2 separate regions of the Homo sapiens genome follow, and region 1 is linked to region 2. The links are contacts of gene promoters, found by promoter capture Hi-C in human tissues and cell types (Jung and others, 2019). All regions are on one chromosome and are shown on one strand. The core of a region is centred on a gene start or on the middle of the fragment in contact, and the rest is flanking DNA. Distances in the headings are between cores, read along the strand shown.

Evidence for each region. The method cuts DNA at HindIII sites, captures the fragments that hold promoters and counts their contacts. A contact is called where the count stands out against the background at its distance.
Region 1: a fragment that was not itself captured here is called in contact with the fragment with the promoter of ZFHX2 in region 2 in 1 of the 25 tissues and cell types used here (adrenal gland).

Annotation. Positions count from the first base shown.
Region 1 is chr14:23,191,742-23,196,413 of GRCh38, reverse strand. It overlaps LOC105370406 (a long non-coding RNA gene), which reads left to right. Exons shown (of 4, transcript XR_943606.3): 4 at 1,154-1,532. It also overlaps a transcript of RNF212B not described here. Among named protein-coding and RNA genes, the nearest start is that of SLC7A8, 10 kb to the right of the region's middle. The HindIII fragment of the contact is 4,786 bases long and covers 1-4,035 here.
Region 2 is chr14:23,548,917-23,553,583 of GRCh38, reverse strand. ZFHX2 (zinc finger homeobox 2) reads left to right here and starts at 1,819. Exons shown (of 10, transcript NM_033400.3): 1 at 1,819-2,241. It also overlaps a transcript of THTPA not described here. RefSeq lists enhancers at 1,466-1,515, 2,365-3,027 and a silencer at 1,646-1,885. The HindIII fragment of the contact is 20,255 bases long and covers 1-4,667 here.

The sequences.
Region 1 (4,672 bases), core at 393-2,892, 360 kb after region 2:
GAGGACTGAAAGGAGGTTGGTGTGGCTGTGGCACAGAGAGCAGTGGTGACGCAGAGTGGGCTTGGAAGCCAGCTGGAGGTTGGGCCATGCATTTTGGCATGATAATGGCGGAGCGGGGCAGGCTGGAGAAAGAGCAGAAAGAATAATGACAGAGAGACAGTGGGCACTCAGAGGATTGGTAGTTACAATCAGAAAGAAATTTTTCGGCACCTGGTAAAAGGCACTTTTCCATGGTGGCTAAGTGTCTAGGCTCTGATTTGCAGAGTAAATGCTAAGCCAGGTGCTCCCGTTCATAAGGAAGTTTTCAGAGGTCAGTAGACAGCAGCAATTGAGGATGTGACCAAGTGGTAGTAAGCATCCAGAGAAGAATTGAGAAATAACAATGTCATGATTGAAAGCAACTGAGACAGAAAAGAATGTTGTACCTTTTTTCTCCCGTGGCACAGTGAAAAGAGCAAATGCAGTGAGGTCAATCAAGATTTAGAGTCCAATTACAGCTCTGCCATTGTGTGTGTCCTTGGCAAGTCACATAATTTTGAACCCGTTTCCTCCTTTGTAAAATGCAAAACAACGTTTACCTTGAAAGGTTGTTTGGAAGGTTAAACGAAATTAAACATGATGAAATTCCTTGTTACATGAAGTGTCTGGCACATAGTGATTGCTCAATACATGCTAGTCCCTTCCACCGTCCAGGTGCCATCAGAACATGGCAAGGACCCATCTCTACTGAGGAGTATTAGGAGGGTGGATGTGCTGTCGGGAGAGCACAGGTTTCATTTGAGGTGTGGAGGTCCAGGGAGTGTTGGAAGAAGATACTGAGCACACGAAATGAGTGCATGAAGTAGGGGAGAATTAGCACTAAATTGAATTACTGAATAGAAATGAGACTATAATGAAGGAAGAGCATTACAAAACAATTGGTTCCAGAGCAGTGAGGGTGAATCATGGGAACAAAGGACATCGAAGCCTTAGAGGTAGACAAGAGATATGGTGAAGATGGGCTACGAGTCAAGCGCTTATAATTCCATTTGGTTCCTCTGATAGCTTAATTCATTTATTATAAATCTTCCATGTTTTCTAAATCTGTGAGACTTTACATTTACCTCAGAATACTACTTTAGCTGCATCTCATGGGTTTTTTTTTTTTCTTTAGAGACAGAGTGTCACTATGTTGCCCAAGCTGGACTTGAACTCCTGAGATCAAGCAATCCTTCCACCTCAGCCTCCCAAATAGCTGGGACTGTAGACGTGCACCACAACACCTGGCTCCTATATGCAGTACTTTCATTGTCAGTTAACTTCTAGTTATTTCATTTCCATTATTATTATTTAACCGAGTTATTTCGTTCATTTTCAAATTTCCCAAAAGTCTTTACCTTATTTTCTATTTTAATTGTTGATTGCTAATTTAATTTCATTGTGACCCAAGAATCTGTGTGATGCTGTATGATTTCACATCTTTGAAATTTCTAGAGCTCCTCTGTGACCCAGTAAATCGAAATGTTTTTAAATATACCATGCATACTTGGAAATAATGTATAGTCTCTATTTTTTAATGCACAGTTCTTTAGAAATCTGTTAGATCAAGCTTGCTAATTTGTTCAAATATTTTATCTGTTTACTAATTTTTCTGGCCTGTTTGATACAGCAGCGTTGTTTTTTTTTTTTTTTTTTTTTTTGAGACAGAGTCTCACTCTGTAGCCCAAGCTGGAGTGCAGTGGCACGATCTCGGCTCACTGCAACCTCCATCTCCCGGGCTCATGCGATTCTCATGCCTCAGCCTCCCACATAGCTGGGACTACAGGTGGGTGCTACCACGCCCAGATAATTTTTATTTTAGTAGAGATGCAGTTTCACCATGTTGCCCAGGGTGGTCTCAAACTCCTGAGCTCAGATGATCTGCCCACCTCAGCCTCCCAAAGTGCTGGGATTATAGGTGTGTGTCACTGCGCCTGGCTGATTTATCAGCTTCTAATAGAGGTACATTAAAATTTCTCCCAATGATTGCAAATTTTCCAAATTTGTTTTTCAATTCTATCAATTTTTTCTTCATCTATTTCAAGCCTTATTTTTAGGTACTTAGAAGTTCAAGATTGTCATATCTTCTTGAGTGTTCTTTTAATTATTTTATATTGGCCTCCTTTATATATATTGATGCTTTTTGCCTTAAATTCTAATGTGACTGATAATACCATTGCTGCCATGTTTATGTAGTGCTTGTCTGCTACCTATTTTCCTCTTTTGTTTTTAATTTTTAAGTGATAGTATATGAGGCCAGGAATGGTGGCTCATGCCTGTAAACCCAGCACTTTGGGAGGCCGAGGCGGGTGGATCACCTGAGGTCAGGAGTTCCAGACCAGCCTGGCCAACATGGTGAAACCCTGTCTCTACTAAAAATACAAAAATTAGCCAGGCGTAGCGGCAGGCTCCTGTAATCCCATCTACTTGGGAGGCTGAGGCAGGAGAATCGCTTGAACCCAGGAGGCGGAGGTTGCAGTGAGCCAAGATCGCGCCACTGCACTCCAGCTTGGGCAACAAGAGTGACACTCCATCTCAGAAAAAAAGAAAGATAGTATATGGTTTTAAAAGTCATATTGTACTACAAAACTTCTAATAACTACCCCCACTCTTCTTCTCTTTCCATTCTTCCTTTTTTTTTTTTGTTAAATCTTCTACTGGTATGCGTTATTATGACTATCTACATATTCTTTATTGCTGAGCCAAATCAAACAATTCCTTGAAGTTAATACTTGCCTCATGTTTTCATTTGCTTGCTTTTCTGTGTCACTATCGCTAGTTCTTCTTAGACTCATTAGATAAAAACATAAATCCGCCCCCTGGGTACTATGTTCCAGGCTGCCAAACATCAAGTAATCCTCAGCTGCATTTTTATTTTCTGGGAGACATCCTCTTGAGTCCTCCATTCTGCCCTCCCTCTGGAGGGGTGGCTGTCTGGTCCTAATTCACCCTCTTATCCTAGGAATTCTCTTTGACTGTCTCTAGTTGTGGTACCTTATTCCTGAACTCAGGGTCTTCTTCCTCCTTTACTTATTCCCTTATTTTGGTGGTGCACATTCTCCAACAGCTTTCTGAAAAAGAACACAAGAGAGGTAAATGTGAGATCTTATATTTTGATAGAGATTTTATTTTATACCCACTTTTGATTGATACTTTGGCTATGTATAATTTTCTGAGTTGAAAATCATATTCCTTCTCAATTTTGAAGACATTGCTCCATTTAAACTTCTATAATAGCATTGCTGCTGAGAAAGGCAGTGCCATTCTGGTAACATTCTTTTTTTTTTTTTTTTTTTTTTTTTTTAGACAGAGTTTTTCTCTTGTTGCCCAGGCTGGAGTGCAATGGCGTGATCTCGTCTCACAGCAACCTCCACCTCCCAGGTTCAAGCGATTCTCCTGCCTCAGCCTCCCTAGTAGCTGGGATTACAGGCATGTGCCACCATGCCCGGCTAATTTTTGTATTTTTACTAGAGACAGGGTTTCTCCATGCTGGTCAGGCTGGTCTCAAACTCCCGACCTCAGGTGATCCGCCCACCTTGGCCTCCCAAAGTGCTGGGATTACAGGCATGAGCCACCGCACCTGGCCATAAAGCTATATTTTTAAAAAATTGGTCTTATGAAGATAATTAAAGGCATAAAGGCATAGTTATCACCAAATTAGTGACTATAGTTTCTGGCCTTCCCATAATTAGAATATTCTTTTTTTTATTATTATACTTTAAGTTCTAGGGTACATGTGCACAAAGTGCAGGTTTGTTACATATGTATACATGTGCCATGTTGGTGTGCTGCACCCATTAACTCGTCATTCACATTAGGTATATCTCCTAATGCTATCCCTTCCCCCTCCCCCCACCCCACAACAGTCCCCGGTGTGTGATGTTCCCCTTCCTGTGTCCAAGTGTTCTCATTGTTCAATTCCCACCTATGAGTGAGAACATGCGGTGTTTGGTTTTTTGTCCTTGTGATAGTTTGCTGAGAATGATGATTTCCAGCTTCATCTATGTCCCTACAAAGGACATGAACTCATCCTTTTTTATGGCTGCATGGTATTCCTTGGTGTATATGTGCTACATTTTCTTAATCCAGTCTATCATTGATGAACATTTGGGTTGGTTCCAAGTCTTTGCTATTGTGAATAGTGCCGCAATAAACATACATGTGCATGTGTCTTTATAGCAGCATGATTTATAATCCTTTGGGTATATACCCAGTAATAGGATGGCTGGGTCAAATGGTATTTCTAGCTCTAGATCCTTGAGGAATCGCCACACTGTCTTCCACAATGGTTGAACTAGTTTACAGTCCTACCAACAGTGTAAAAATGTTCCTATTTCTCCACATCCTCTCCAGCACCTGTTGTTTCCTAACTTTTTAATTAGAATATTCTTGAATGCATGGCCTGAAAGGGCAGACTCTGTAAAATCCTCCTTTGGAAACAAGAATTTAGATTTCCAATAATTTACAGTAACTGAATAAAATTTATCTTGAAAATATACCTTTACTCTCCCAAAGATTCAATATACAATGAATATCGAATAAGTATGTATTTGTCGAGTGCCTTCTATATGCCAAGAACTGCTCTAGGCCTTAGGTAAATAATGGTGAAGAAACAAGCAAAGGTTTTGTTTGTTTTTTATTACAGAAAAATTTA
Region 2 (4,667 bases), core at 570-3,069:
CTTGTTGCCCAGGCTGGAGTGCAATGGTGTGATCTTGGCTCACCGCAACCTCTGCCCCCCGGGTTCAAGCGATTCTTCTGCCTCAGCCTCCCGAGTAGCTGGGATTACAGGTGCCCACCACCACGCCCAGCTAATTTTGTATTTTTAGTAGAGACAGGGTTTCACCATGTTGGTCAGGCTGGTCTCGAACTCCTGACCTCAGGTGATCTACCCACCTCAGCCTCCCAAAGTGCTGGGATTACAGGAGTGAGCCACCATGCCCGGCCAGCCTCTGCTTTTTCATTGAGAAAATGTGGCCTGCCTCACAGTTACCTGTGAGGATTCAGTCATAAACTGTCACATAGTATAAACTCAAAATGTTCATTTATCTCTCCTTTTTGTCATGTGAACTTCAGGGTTTTGTTGTGTTGTTTAAGAGAAGTAGGCTATAGCAGTTAGTATGGGCCCTGGAGCCAGACCATGGAGGTTTTTGAGTCCTGGCACTGTCACTTACTTATTGGCCATTGGACCTTGGGCCTGTTAATTCACTTGTTTGTGCCTTAGTTTCCTCAATAAATGAGACTATAATAGCATCTACCTCATGCTTGAGGTATTGAGAGGAGTAAACAATGTATGTAAAAGTGCTTGGAACTGTCCCTGTGCATTCAAGAAATCTTAAAAATTATTATTAGAATACAGGAGCGGCCGGGTGAGGTGGATCACCCCTATAATCCCAGGACTTTGGGAGGCTGAGGCCGGTGGATCACCTGAGGTCAGGAGTTCGAGACCAGCCTGGCTAAGATGGTGAAACCCCCGTCTCTACTAAAAATACAAAATTAGCAGGGCATGGTGGTGGGCACCTACAATCCCAGCTACTTGGGAGGCTGAGGCAGGAGAATCACTTGAACCTGGGAGGTGAAGGTTGCAGTGAGCCGGGATCATGCCACTGCACTGCAGCCTGGGCGACAGAGTGACTCTGTCTCAAGAAAAAAACAAACAAACAAAAAAACGGGCTGGGCGCGGTGGTGGTTCACACCTGTAATCCCAGCACTTTGGGAGGCCGAGGCAGGCGGATCACAAGGTCAGGAGTTCGAGACCAGCTTGACCAACGTGGTGAAACCCCGTCTCTACTAAAAATACAAAAATTAGCTGGGTGTGTTGATGCATGCCTGTAATCCCAGCTACTTAGGAGGCTGAGGTAGGAGAATCGCTTGAACCCGGTGGTGGAGGTTGCAGTGAGCCGAGATCGCACCACTGCACTCCAACCTGGGCGACTGAGTGAGACTCCGTCTCCAGAAAAAAAAAAAAAAAAAAAATTCAGGAGCACTTAATAAGCGATAAACTGAAGATGAGGAGGAGCCCGAACCTCCCCCAACCCAGCTCAGGGGACTATGTAACCGTGTGGAGGAGGCAGAAGCTCTCAGAGACTAAAGAGTAATTGCTGCGGTAGAGAAGGTTCTAGTACCCAATTTCGCGGGGGGAGATGGGGGAGGCGGAATAATAAGGCAGGAAGAAGAGAATGAAAAAAGGAGGCCTTGGGCGGCTCAGGGCTTGTTCTGAAGCTGATTTAAAACAAAACAACAAAACACATGTATGGTTTCTGCAGGCCACAGGATGAAGAGGAGAGGAGACGGAAAAGAGTTTAAAGGGGCCTGCCCTCTTTGCAGGCACCGGCTTGAACCTGGAGGCGACCTGGTGGGCTGGCCGGCCTGCCCCCGGCCCTGGGTCCCGCGAGGCAGGCGGGCGGGCGCGAACAGACTACAACTCCCGGCATGCGCCGCGGCGGGCGGGTCGCTGCACCTGCTCAGTGGGGCAGCCCCGGGCGCCTGGGTATTGATTATTCCATTGTGTGGGACGCCTAGACTCCAGCCAGTGAATGAGGCGGAGGAGTGAGGGCGAGGAGGAGGAGGAGGAGGAGGGCGAGGAGGAGAAGGAGGAGGAGGAGGAGGAGGCAGGGAGCGAGCGAGTGCCCAGGGTGAATCAATGGAAACCCCCTCACGAAGCCGGGGAAACACTTCAGCCGCAGCCAAATAGCATTGATTATTTTCCTTCACTTCCCTCACCGCCGTGAATTTATTTATTTATTTTTTTCCGTCTCCGTCCCTGACGCCCCGGAGCGAGCGCTGGAGGGAGGGAGGAGGAGGGGAAAAAAGAGGAATCAACACATCGGAGAAGTCCCTTCCAAGAGCCGCCCCCTCCCCTCCCCGCCTCGCGCTGCTCGGTGGCCGCGGTTCGACTCCCGTCCCTGCTTCCAGCTGAGGTGTAAGTGCATCGATTTCCGATGCTGCTGGGTTGGTTTTTTTCTCCTCTCCCTCTCTCTCTTCTTCCCTTCCTTGCTCTTTGGAAGCTCGAGACGGGAGAGGAGGCGCTTGGAGACTGCCGCTGGAGGGGACGGAGAGGGACGGGAAGGGGCTGGGGGAGGGGACAAGGACGGACGGACAGACAGACCGAGAGCCCTGGGAGATAGCAGACAGGGGTGTGGGAGGAAGAGGGCGTGCGCGAGGATGGGGGAAGAGAGATGCGGGGGTGGAGGGAGAAACGGGAACGGGAAAGGCAGAGGCCCGCCGGACAGACGAAGGGTATGGAAAGCCTAGACGGACCGCGCCGAGTTGGGCAGGGAGCGGGGATCCCGGGGGGAAGGGGAGGCCCGGTGAGTGTGAGGGCTCAGAGCTGTCAGCCTGGAGGGTCCTGGGTCTCGGCGGCCCCCCGCCGGCTGTGGGATGGGAGAACCGCGGCCGGCGGGCTGATGGATGGGCTAGCGCGCTGGGGCGTGGAGTGGGAGGGGACGTGGATACTCTCAGTCTTCGTTCGTTTTTGGCTGAAGTTGGGCTTTCCATTCCTTTTTTTGAAAGTGTTGAGTAGGTGAGGGGAGGCCATAAGCCCATTCAAGGTGAAGCGTGTCTGTCCTGCACGCCCATCCTACCACCCCCATCCGCTCGTCTGCCCCTCTGAGCAGCCCTATCATTTTCAAGCACAGGACCACGCTTCCTCGCTGTGCCTGTAGCCCCGCTGATCTCTGTCCATGTGTCCCTGACTTTTGGTTTTGCTGTTCTTCATCTTGTCTCTTCCATCCCATCCATCTCTGGATCTGTATGTCACTGTCTCCACTTGTGACCCTTCCCATCTGAGTGATCCTCTCCTTGTGTGTCTCTATCACTATGTGTCACGCCTTGGCTGCCTGTTCTGTCGGTCTAGGATTCCATGCCCTCTCCTTCAGAGTCTGTCTGGATATCTCTGGCCTTTTCAGGCTACTTTGGAATTTGCTTATCAGTCATGATTGTGGTGGTCACAGTCAGGGCCTGGAGGAGTGGGATGATGGAGCAAATGTGTCTTCGCCAAAGCCTCTAGTGCCTTCAGCATGGCCAGGACAGCCTCCTCTTCCACCATCACCAGAGAAGCTTTGGAACTTCCTAGCATTGTTGACTGTCCCCTTTGCCATGTGCCTGTCTCCCTCATCAGAACCTCACCTTCTGGTCTCATGCGTGTCATCTGCCTTTCCAGGAGCTTCGCACAACAAAACCTCTTCCCTGCTGACTTAATTTTACTCCCTTCCCCCACTGTATCATTGTATATTTTTTATTTCCCCATTTTGCTTCACCCCTTTTTTCCATCTGTTTCCCATGAGCTCTGAGTTTCCACCTTTGTTCCCATAATCTGCCCTCTTCCTACCTTTTCTTCTTGATCACCCTAAGTTTCTAGTTTCTTTTATCCCTTTTCCTCTTATCCAGCATTTTAACCCCAGCAGCAGAAAGTACCAGCAAGCAAAGGGCTGGGAGAGGTGTGGGGTATGGTTTGTGAAGGCACATAAACAGGCCAAGAAATAAATTTAATGAGCTTCCAGGGGCATATAACCCCTCCATCAGTCAGTGCCATTATGTCAGTTAACTGTCAACTTTGATTTTGTAAGGGGACATTCCCTAGGACTCTAAGCTCCACCCTGCCTGGTTGCCCCCCATCCTTCAGTTCATTCTAGATATCAGTTGCTTTTTCTTCACTTTTTAGTTCATCTTCTTCCTAGGCCCCTGCTACTATCATATTTAGATCCAGCACCATTTTTTTTTAATGAGGCAGTGTTTATTAGTGTAATAAAAGCTATCGTATGTAAGGAGCCAAGTTCATTTAGCCTGAAGAACAGTAAGGGTGGATAAAGGATCTGGAGAGTTTACCTTAGTTTTTAGCCCATCATTGTTTTTCCAAACCTCAGGAGCTTGGAAAGGTAAAAGGAGCAGGCAGACATGGGCAGAAGATGGACGATTTCAGAGGTGAACAGAATTAAAGAAAGAAAGGGGTGGTCGGTGCAATAAACACATGGGGTAGAGAAATGTATGACGTGAGGGATGTGCAAAGGAAGGGAGGAAAATCTATGCGGACTCGGGGGCAGGGGAGGAACCAAGGGGTGATTAATAAGAAATTGGAAGAATGAAACAAAACGTGTTGATAGCAATACAGAAGGTAAAAGGAAGAGAAATGATAGAATATTCCTAAAGTGGAGGTCAACAGAAAAAGCACTATGAAATTAATACAGTAGTAAAGAGGGGGAAGGGAGGAATTGCTGAACAAGATGAGATGGGAAGAGAGTATGGTACAAAGAAGGTAAATGGATGGCAAACGAAGGAGTGCTGAGGCAGATCAGAGCTGCACAGAGCTTGGTAGGAGGAAAAGAGGAGAGGATGAGGTATCAAAGGAAA